3 separate regions of the Homo sapiens genome follow, and regions 1 and 3 are each linked to region 2. The links are contacts of gene promoters, found by promoter capture Hi-C in blood cells and fetal thymus (Javierre and others, 2016). All regions are on one chromosome and are shown on one strand. The core of a region is centred on a gene start or on the middle of the fragment in contact, and the rest is flanking DNA. Distances in the headings are between cores, read along the strand shown. Region 1 has its middle 26 kb from the start of SLC10A2. Region 2 holds the start of ARGLU1 (arginine and glutamate rich 1). Region 3 overlaps LOC124903211 (WAS/WASL-interacting protein family member 1-like).

Region 1 (3,287 bases), core at 283-2,782, 3.5 Mb before region 2:
TCAGGTCTATAAATTAGGAATCCTTCCAGCTGCAAGTGATAACATATCTGGGTAACAACAGATTAAGTAAGTAGGTGTTTGTTTTGCTTAGGTGTCAAGTTTACAGGCTGGCAGCTATTGGCTTTGCTTCAGTGGCTCAACACTGCTAGAGCTGGTTCTGTGCTGTTCTATAGTCGCTGTTGCAGTACCAGGCAACCCTTTGTCTTTAAGGCAGCAGGAGGTGGGAGAAGGGTCAATGACAGGTGTCTCTATTACCTCGATAGCAACATCAACAAAAAATTACCAAAGGCTTTGCTAGAATCTTCCTGAAGAGATTTCTGCTTCTATGTAATTGTCTAGAAAGGTGTCACATGGCTACCTAGCTGCAAATGAAGGTTGACATGTGAGTTTTTAGTTGAGGTGGGAATCGGAGAGGGGGTTGGAAATGAGTGCTGGGTTAACCAGACAATAGTATCTGCTACACCTGAAAAGCCTGTGCCTTACTGGTGAGGGGCAGAGATTCTTAGGGCCAGTGGGAAGGAAGAAGGTACAAATGGCAGAAACTGCAAGACCAATGGAGAGGTTCATTTCTCTCCACTCCATCCATACTCACCAGACCTGTACATTGACCCCGGGGAAGCCATGTTAACCCTTGAAGCCACTTTTAATATTTCTTTCTCTTGATTTTGTTGTCTCATATATCATATGATAGTAAAGGAAAATATTGAAAAAGCAACCTCATGGTCTCATTTCCTTAAAAAACCCTTTAATGTTTCCCCTCCTTTTTATTCCCTATCATTTGCAAGGATTGCAATATAAATATAATTAATTACCAATTTGCTTTTTTCACTTAACGTGATTTCATAACCCTTTTCCTTCTCTGTCTCATTTTGTTCTTAATGAATGTCTGTATTGTCTTCACTGACTCCTTTAAAGGATTGACATTAGTGATACAGCTTAGAAGACTTAGCCTTATGTTTCTTATGCCATGAGGCATGAAAGAGTCATTATGTCCCAGTAGCAAAAGGACAGAATCATATTTGTTATTTTTCAAAGCTATTCTTTTAAAATTCTTCTGATTTGAGAACAGTAACCACAATGACTTAAGAATTGACTTATATTGTATAAATCAATCAAGCAGCTGAAAACCCTGCTGGTTTGACATGTAAGTAATCTTTGTACTTAAACATCCTAAACTACTATTTTTAATTTTAAATAATGATACTGTCTCTCTTATTACTTACATGTATATTTGTTGGCGTGTACTTATTCCCAGCAAAGGCAATGATGATTTCTTAGAATTAATTTTTCTCTACCAGCTTTATAACACCGAACAGGTTTTTAAATGTACCACTTAGCAAATTAATAGAAGGTCAAACCACTGGAATTTAGAAAAAAAAGAAACTTGATTATATAACTCCAAACAATTTTTAAAACTGATGTATACTTTATACATTCTTAGTTGATATTTAACATTTGTTATCATAAGGTTAAATAATTACAAGTTCAATTTCTGACAAAAGCTGAAAATACAATTTGGTAAAAATGAAAATTTAAAATTAAAGTGATACATCACTTTTAAATATATCCATTGAAATCTACACACCTCATAGATATTTATTACTGATTTTTAAAAAATGAGAAGTTTTGCCTTCGTTTTTGAGAATTTTACATTGTTTTTCTTTTGACTTGAACTTATGTAATCCTTTTTCCATTATAGAATTTTATTCTAATGTGATGTATTTATGAGAATTTTGACACTGTGTATTTTTGGATAAATATTATGTACTTGAGTGCTGTGGTCAACAGAACAGAATATACAGCTAAACTTCTGGAGTTCAAGTTTCACCCTTTGCCAGCTAAGTGACATTGGGAAAGTTACTTAATCATTCTGTGCCTAAGTTCCCTCAATTGTAAAAGTGGGAGAAATATTACATATCCCACAGAGTGATTGTGAGGACTAAATGAGTTCACATGTGTAAAGAACTTAGACGAAAGCCTGGAATGCAATATACACTGTCCTGTTATCGTTAGACTGAGACACAGCAACAACTATTTTGTGCCTCTTTTTTATGGGTTTAAGTGCTTATAAACCTTGTTTACATAAAAAGGAAGATGATAACGAGAGGATTTTTGGTATATATTGTCCCTCAAATTTCCAAGTTACACGCAAAAACAATACCACATAGTGGTCTATCAGCAAAACTTTTTTAAAATACAAGGATTAACAACTTGATGGGATCCTCTTCCAGTTTTCTTGAAAGTAAAGAATTGGAATTACCCATCTTTCAAAATGTTTCTTGAACTGAAGTCATTTGCCATCTCAATTTCTGGAAAGTGTGCTACCAAAGGCATTGCAAGATGTATCTAAGAGCTCTAGACTCTGTTATTCTTCCACTTACAGTCTCCACATTTAACTCTATTCTCACAAAAGGGTGGAGAAGATAAAAATATTAGATACATTTCCTGCTACATCTTGGGCAAAAAAATATTTGATCAGCTTTATTATAATAACATTTACATAGAATAAGAGTCACTAATTTCAAAAGTACAGTTCTGTGAATTTGGACAAATGTATAAAGTTGTGGATCCACCACCAAAGTTATGATATAGAACATTTCTGTCACTTCCACATGGTACATCATATCTTTTTGCAGTAATTGCCTCCCCAGATGCTTGATGCCTGATTGGCTTTCTGTCACCCTTTCACTTCTGGTTACCTTGGGTAAATACCTAGGAGGGAGACTGCTGGGTCCCATGGTTAGTGTAGGTTTATGAGAAGCTGCAACACGTTTTCGAAGGTGGTTGTACCGCTTAGCAATCTACATTCTTGTCAACACTTGTTATTGTCAGCACTTTTTTCTTTTTAGTTATTTTATTGAGCATGCAGTGGTACCTTATTGTGGTTTTAATTTGGATTTATCTAATATTGTCGTGTTGAGTATCTTCTCATGAATGTACCTCCCATTGCCATGTGCTTATTTGCTTTTAGTACCATTTTTTGCTGAAGTGTCTATTCAAATTCTTCTGCTTATTTTTCAGTTGGGTTCCTTGACTTCTTATTATTGAGTTTCAAGAGTTCTTTATATATTTTAGATCAATTATTTTATAATGTGCTTTTCATATGTTTTAAATATATTTTTTAAACCTTAGAGCTGCAGATCGAGCTCATGTAATTTACAAGAAATGTCTTTTATATTTCTTAATTAGCAGAGAAACCAGTCAATTACATCAGACTTTTTGTCAGAAAAATTTTTTTGACTTCTCTTTTCAATCTTAACAATATAGCGACATGGGCCTCTGTGTTG
Region 2 (3,349 bases), core at 543-3,042:
CCTAACACAAACCCAACTACAGAAAACTACAAACCACGCAGTCAATTCAGCACACATATACTCGCCTCGAGAAAATCATAAATTCAGTAACGTTCTTGCTTCATGAGCACTTTCTAAATATTCACTGAAGAACTGACCAAGTACGGCTGGTTCAATAGGGAGTTAGTAGGACTGTTCAAATCTACTTTTCAATGCGGTTTTTGGAAACTGAATACCCAGAGCATCAAAGTACGATGATCATAAAGCAAAACACACAACAAATCCCTAAATTTTAAAACCCAAAAATTCCTTTAGTTTGGGATTATTTATCCACATCTACTTTCATAGCCAGAAATACTTGAGAGCTGACATTTTCGGAAACACACTCTAACTCTAGTTTTCACTAAATATCCTTCATGGGAGCAACGCCAAAATAAAATCAACCCTTCAAGTGTCTTCTGAAGAAGCACAGTGTAAGGGAAACAACAAAACTGCACGTGTTTGCTACAGGAATAGAAAGCAAGTTAAAAAAGCGGTAGGCTTTGGGATGGTGATTACACAGGTGAATTCAAAGGTCAAAAAACTCATCGCACTGTACACTTAAGGTCTATGCTTTTTTTTTTTAACATCTCAAGGAAGGGGTGAGGGTGTAGGCTCAAGGGGAAAAAAGCAATCCCAACACCTTAACAACAGGAATACACTAAAGTGAAAATGCATTTTTCTGGCGGACCACCTAAAGTGTATGATTCCCGAGATTAGTTAAGTCCTGTCCCAAATTTGAGCTTCAATAGAATGCTTCTGGCCAGCTGTGATTCGCATCTCAAAGGTTAATTCCCTTCTCTCTCCTCCTCAAGCCGACCAGCAAACGCTCACCACCCTCCACATCTGCAGGCCGGCTCGCTCCCGGCCTCACAAGCCAACGCAGCTCTCCGACCTCACTCCGAACTCCACCCCTACTTCCGGGACACCACTCCTCTCTCGCGCCAAAATCGCCTTCTCTTAAACCCTTTCTGCTCAAGCCCTCGAATTTTCCATCCCGAACAACTTCTGGGTCTGTCCCACCCCAAGCTTTCCAAACGCCAAGCCTGCCCGCCCCGCCGCCGCCTCTCCGACCCGTTCCCGCGCCCGGTCCCCAGCCCCGGACCGTCCCCGCCATTCTCCCGGCCCGCACCGTCCCGCCCCGGCCCCACGCCCTCGCCCCGCGCCCTGCTCTCCGCACGCCCCGGTCCCTCCCCGCGCGGGCACTCACATTTTTCGCTGCCGCTCGAACTCCGCTTTCTTCTCCTCCTCCTCTCGCTTCTGCTTCTCGTCCAGGCTGCTGCGCTTGCTCACCGTGCGCCCGAAGATGTCGATGCGGTCGGGCGGGGACGAGGCGCGCTCCCGGTCCCGCTCGCGCCGGGACACGGCCGTGTTGGTGGAGCGCGAACGGGACCGCGACTCCCGCCGCCGGTTCCGTTTACTTTCCCGAGATTTGGAACGCTTCCGCACGCGCTCCTTGTCCCGGGATCGCGACCGGGACCGGCTGCGCTTCTTGTTGTGCTTGCTGCTCTTGGTGTGCTTGGAGCGGGACGAGCTCCGGCTCCGAGACCGGCCCATCCTTCCGGGAGACGCTCTAACCGCTCGCCTCAGGCCCCTCACGCGGCCAGTTCCCCTCGCCTCCGCCTTCGGACGCGGGCTGGCGGTTCTACCGAGGCCGGAGGAAAGAAAGGTGTCGGCCAACGGACTTTATGCCTTTTCCCGGCGTCTACAGCTGCCACGAAGGCCGCCTCCAACGAGAAACCCGTAGCGCCAGGCGCCCCTAAGATGGCAGCTGCGGCTGCACCGGCCGCCCTTCCCACAATGCCCTGCGCGAAACGTGCCGAAGCGTGGGCCCCGCCTCCTGACGATTTTTGCCGAAGGCAGGCGAGCGCTTCGGAGCGGACTCGTTTTTTTCCGCCAGTCTTGGCGGAAGCCTGAGACGCAATAGATGGAGACTCTCCTTTTCGCCTTGGCGTACTCTTTTTTTTTTTTTCCTCCCTGGTAAGATGCCAACGCCTGTTGAATGAATTAAGCACGTTTTAGTGGGATTTAAGTCCGGCCTCGCAGAAGTTGATTGATTGCATTATTTTCTAGGAGCTGGTCTTGTGGGGCAGCCCTAAAATGTATCTCCAAGTGACCCTGCACTCATCACTTGCTGCCTTGGACTTAGTTTCCTCATTCGTAGAATGGAGACACCACACTTTCTGAAGTGCTTATGAGACTTGCAGGAGGTAAGTAGGCAGCAGGTTTTGATGAATGTAACCTAATGCTTACTATAGGGCTTAATGTGCCTTCTAAATGCTTTAATGTATTAACAAGTGCTTAATTCTTACAATTCTGAATTAAGTACTACTATTATCCACGTTTCAGAGATGAGGACCCTGAGGTCCACAGAGGTTAAATAAGGGTCACACAACCAGTAGGTGACAGAGCAGGGACGTGAACCTAGATCATATTGTGCAAAGCCCTTGCACATAACCAGCAAGCCCTCCTCAACCCTAGCCACGAAAAGCTTCGTCCCTATGTGGCACAACAAACTGTGTCATTGTTAAGACCTAAAAGGAAAAGGCAATGTTAATATTTGCAGATGACAGGAACCCTTGAAAATCTAGGTGCCTCAATTTTAAAATTGAGTGCAATAATAAAGCTTAAGTAAGTAGAAGAAAAATTAGAATTATTTGAATAAGCAAAAACATATTAAAAATGAAATAATATTTCCTCCACAATGGCAACAGAAACCATAAAATACTTAGGGATAAACTTTAACAAGTTACACAATCTTTATTATAAACCTTTACTGAAAAGGCAGTAATAAGGCCCTAGTAAATGTAAAACATGCTGTATTCTTAGGTGAGTAGTCAGTATCAAAAATACTGTCAATTCTTCCCAAGTCAAATTACAAAATTAGTGCAATTCTCATGAGAGTCCCAAATTCTCTTGGGGATATGTGTTTTAGAACTAATTAATTTTAAGTTTTATATGGAAGATCACATAATTAATTATCAAGAAAACTTGGAAACAAAGAAGAGTAGTGTATTAGTCTGTGTTGACTGCTGTAACAAAATATCATAAACTAGGCAGCTTATGAACAACAAATTTATTTCTCACAGTTCTGAAAGTTGGAAATCCAGGATCCAGGTGCTAGCCAATCTGGTCGCTGGTGAGGACCCAGAGATTCACAGATGACTCACAGAAGGCACCTACTCACAGTGCCCTCACATGATAGAAGGGGAAAGCTAGCTCTCTGAGCTCTCTTTTAGTGGCACTTCTAGGGTCTGAAAGTTTGTGTTCCCTCAGATTCATATGTTGAAACCTAATCACCAGTGCAATAGTATTAAAAGGTGGGGCTTTG
Region 3 (3,279 bases), core at 752-3,251, 3.2 Mb after region 2:
AAAATAAGTGTAATTTTTGAAAGAGTGATATATATTTTAATATGTTTTTGTAACATGTGACTTGAAGATTGTGTTGGCTAATTTTATGTGCCAAGAGAGCCCTGACTAGTACAAAGATTATAGCGTTTTTATTTTTAGCATGTATACAGTTAGGATTATTGATCAGTAGCCTGAATTTGGGAAGAATAATCATTGTGGCAAATATCACCCAGTGTGCCTCAAAAAGGTGTGTTTAAAGTTGATCTTCCATTTTTAAATCATACCTTAAAAAAAAATACCTCAAGAAATGCCATTTTAAGTCTGTGCACCTATGTGTGCATGTGTGCGTGTTTGTTTATATAATAGATTGTGTGATTGTGTGTGTATAGGTATGTGTGTATGATTGTGTGTGTTGGGGGCGCCACCTTTATGAACATTATGCTTCGGCGTTCTTTTTAGATCTTGTTACCTTTTCTTACGTTCACAAATGTTGCCTAGCAATATGTCTAGTCAGGAAAGATGAAGGGATTCTTATCTTGGTGCTTGAAGAAAATGTGGTGTAGTTTTATTGGCTTTGTGATCACTTACATCCCACTTTTATGAGGATGTAAATGGGCCACCTCTATGTTCCTGTATGTTGCCAGCCATCAGTAGACAATGCTAAAGGAACCACCACTTTTAAACATCATGTGATGGTTTCTTCTGAGAAAGTATATTTTGCAATCTTTTTCTTTTTCATGTTGACTTTTATTATGCAGTTGCATTTTCATATCCGTATTGAACATTTACTTGCTGTGCCTGTCACACGCTAGCAGGTGTCATCTTTTCCTGTTTGCTTGTTTCTTGGGGCCATCCTAGTGTTAAAGGCCAGTGTTTTTAAGGTGTCAGCAGCTCTGGATTGGCAGTTAGCACTTTCCCCATGTACTGCCTCAGTTACCAGACTGGGGACAAAAGAGAGAAGGTTAAAGAATTATCACCTATGTCCGTGGTATTCTGTCATAGAGAGTATAAATTTCCTACAGCAAACTGGAAATTAATTGCAATTCTGCAGTTAGAACCTCCAAATACAAATGTGGATGATACAATTTCAATTCTCATTGAGAGTCAGCCCATGAAACAAACCAACAGTAAGAAACTCTGTAATTAGAAGTATCCCAGTCCTCTTCCTCAACCGAGGAACTTGTTTTCTTTCCCCCTTTCTATTGCCAGATAAGCTATTTATTTATTTAAAGCTTGTTCTACACCTTGTGATTTTCCAACTGTTCTTCCATACTTTTTCAACAAAAGTCAGCTAATAACATCTGCCAACATGCTCTGCACGCAGGACTGGCTGGGGCTGGCATGGCCTCTTGCCAGCAAACAGCCTGGTTGAAATTTTTTCTCATGGTCCAAGATCTTTCCTTGGAAGCTTTCTTTCCTTTCACAGCTAATAAAATGGCCATATCTTTCAGCAGGGAGTTTTTTCTGTTTGTTTGTTTTTTCTATTTTTAACAGAATCATATACAATAATGATTATTTTATTAGAAGTCTTCTGAAATAATTACTTTTCAAGAAAGAATCAATTATATAAAAGTGTAGAGATTTAAAAATATGTTACAGGTTCACAATACAAATACTAGTAGCACTACCAATAATGAACATCACTAATTATTTTCTTTGTTTCATATAGGAAAGGCAAGTATGGGAGGAGAAAGGTGAATAGCATTTTATTGCTTGTGAAATTTTCTTTCTTTTTTTAGTTCTTTGCCCTGTAGGTGTTTGACAGTATTTTGTATTTAGGTGAGCTCAATCTAAAAACTAAGCAGATTAAGTGGAATGCTATATAACTAGTTAGAATAGCTTTAATTTAAAAGGTATTTTAAGAGGGAAAGATTTTTAACTTCACAGGTTTCTGTCAAAGGATATATTTAATCTTTAAAATGAGTGGCACCATTTCATTATATTTCATTTTATTAGATAATGTTGTTCAGTAGCTCATTTGAGAAATTCCATTCCTCTGATGAACGAACTGTGGACAGACTTTTCCTCATCTAGGGTTTATAAGGAAACTTCTTGCACTTTACCAGCAAATTTATTTGCTAATGTTTCAACTGAAATTTCACAAGAGTTTTGTAACATGCTAACTCTGTGTATGGGCAACAGAATGACTTACATGAGAGAATATAACTGCTGTTTGGATCATTTGCTATGTATGGCATTGCAAACATTTAAAGTATCAGGATTTGTTAATGGAATTGATCAGCCCCTTGGAAATTATAAAGGCTTTCTACTTGTGTGTTTATTATTCTTGTTAAAAATATGGATCAGTCTCTTTCCTAAATGTTCATTTTATGAGGGAGGATTTTCTAAAATAAATGATTATTTAATGTGCATATATGATAGAACAAACTACTATAACTTTTTTAAAGTCTTATCAATTGAATTAATACTGTTTAGAAAAATATGTTGTAGTTACAAATGCAGCTAATCCAGTATTCTCAACATTTTTTCATTATAAATATAATTATGTTGAAGAAATACATAAATGCCCAATTAAAAAGTGACTGCGGTTAGGAGTTGAAAATATTTATTAATATGCCTCTGGATTTTGTTCTGTTTGAATTTTGAGAATGTGTTTCTAGATTTAAGAAGCAACACAAGCTTTTTTTCCCAGAAGGCTTCCTATTATTGAAATGGAAATTATACATTAATGACTGTATAACACTAGTAGATATTTTTAAAATGCAAGAGCATCTTCTTAGATCATTACTTTTCCTTGGAATGCTTGGCCCCTGTAATATAATACACCGGTATTTTGCATGATGAAATTGATGTCCTGTGTGTTGCTTCATGTTGCTATCCTAGCTGCCGATTAAAACGTTTTTTTTTTTTCATGCCAGAGCAGAACAAAATTGTCTGCTTCTCAATCTGCACATCATAAGCAGATGACATTAAAAATGTCTGTAAGATGACACAGCTATATTTTCTGGGAGAGGGCGGGAGGATGCTCAGCGAGGGTGGCCCGGAGTGTCCTTGTACAGAGTACAGATGTTATGAAGTGGGGAAGACCAGCCTGTGTTCATTGATTCACCTATTGATTCCAGGAGCAAGCTCACCCTGTTTCATACACTGCTCAGGAGGTAAACAGGAGGAAGGGAGCCAGCCTGGCTTTTTTGCCACATGCTCTGCTGTTTGGTAGAACTGTATTATAGTCAGAAACCTTCCGCTTTTCTGCAGTTGTTTGCATGCTGTTTCCAAGGCTAGCCCTCTGAGTCTGTTTTCTAGAGTTGTTTTGAAATTCAACCTAAAGATAACAGAGGA

Evidence for each region. Contacts are between HindIII fragments. The CHiCAGO score rates a contact against its expected background, and 5 or more counts as called.
Region 1: a contact is called between a fragment that was not itself captured here and the fragment with the promoter of ARGLU1 in region 2, in 2 of 17 cell types (naive B cells and total B cells). The highest score is 6.1, in naive B cells.
Region 3: a fragment that was not itself captured here is called in contact with the fragment with the promoter of ARGLU1 in region 2 in 2 of 17 cell types (total B cells and non-activated CD4 T cells); the score reaches 8.9 in total B cells.

What each region holds. Positions count from the first base shown.
Region 1 is chr13:103,039,253-103,042,539 of GRCh38, forward strand. No RefSeq gene overlaps it. Among named protein-coding and RNA genes, the nearest start is that of SLC10A2, 26 kb to the right of the region's middle. The HindIII fragment of the contact is 4,279 bases long and covers 1-3,287 here.
Region 2 is chr13:106,566,345-106,569,693 of GRCh38, forward strand. It overlaps ARGLU1 (arginine and glutamate rich 1), which reads right to left and starts at 1,793. Exons shown (of 4, transcript NM_018011.4): 1 at 1,229-1,793. The coding sequence starts at 1,575. RefSeq lists a silencer at 955-1,254 and enhancers at 1,149-2,059, 1,735-1,854, 1,865-1,934. The HindIII fragment of the contact is 1,462 bases long and covers 1,046-2,507 here.
Region 3 is chr13:109,788,211-109,791,489 of GRCh38, forward strand. LOC124903211 (WAS/WASL-interacting protein family member 1-like) reads left to right here. Exons shown (of 2, transcript XM_047430835.1): 2 at 1-2,786. Among named protein-coding and RNA genes, the nearest start is that of IRS2, 3.3 kb to the left of the region's middle. The HindIII fragment of the contact is 1,232 bases long and covers 1,386-2,617 here.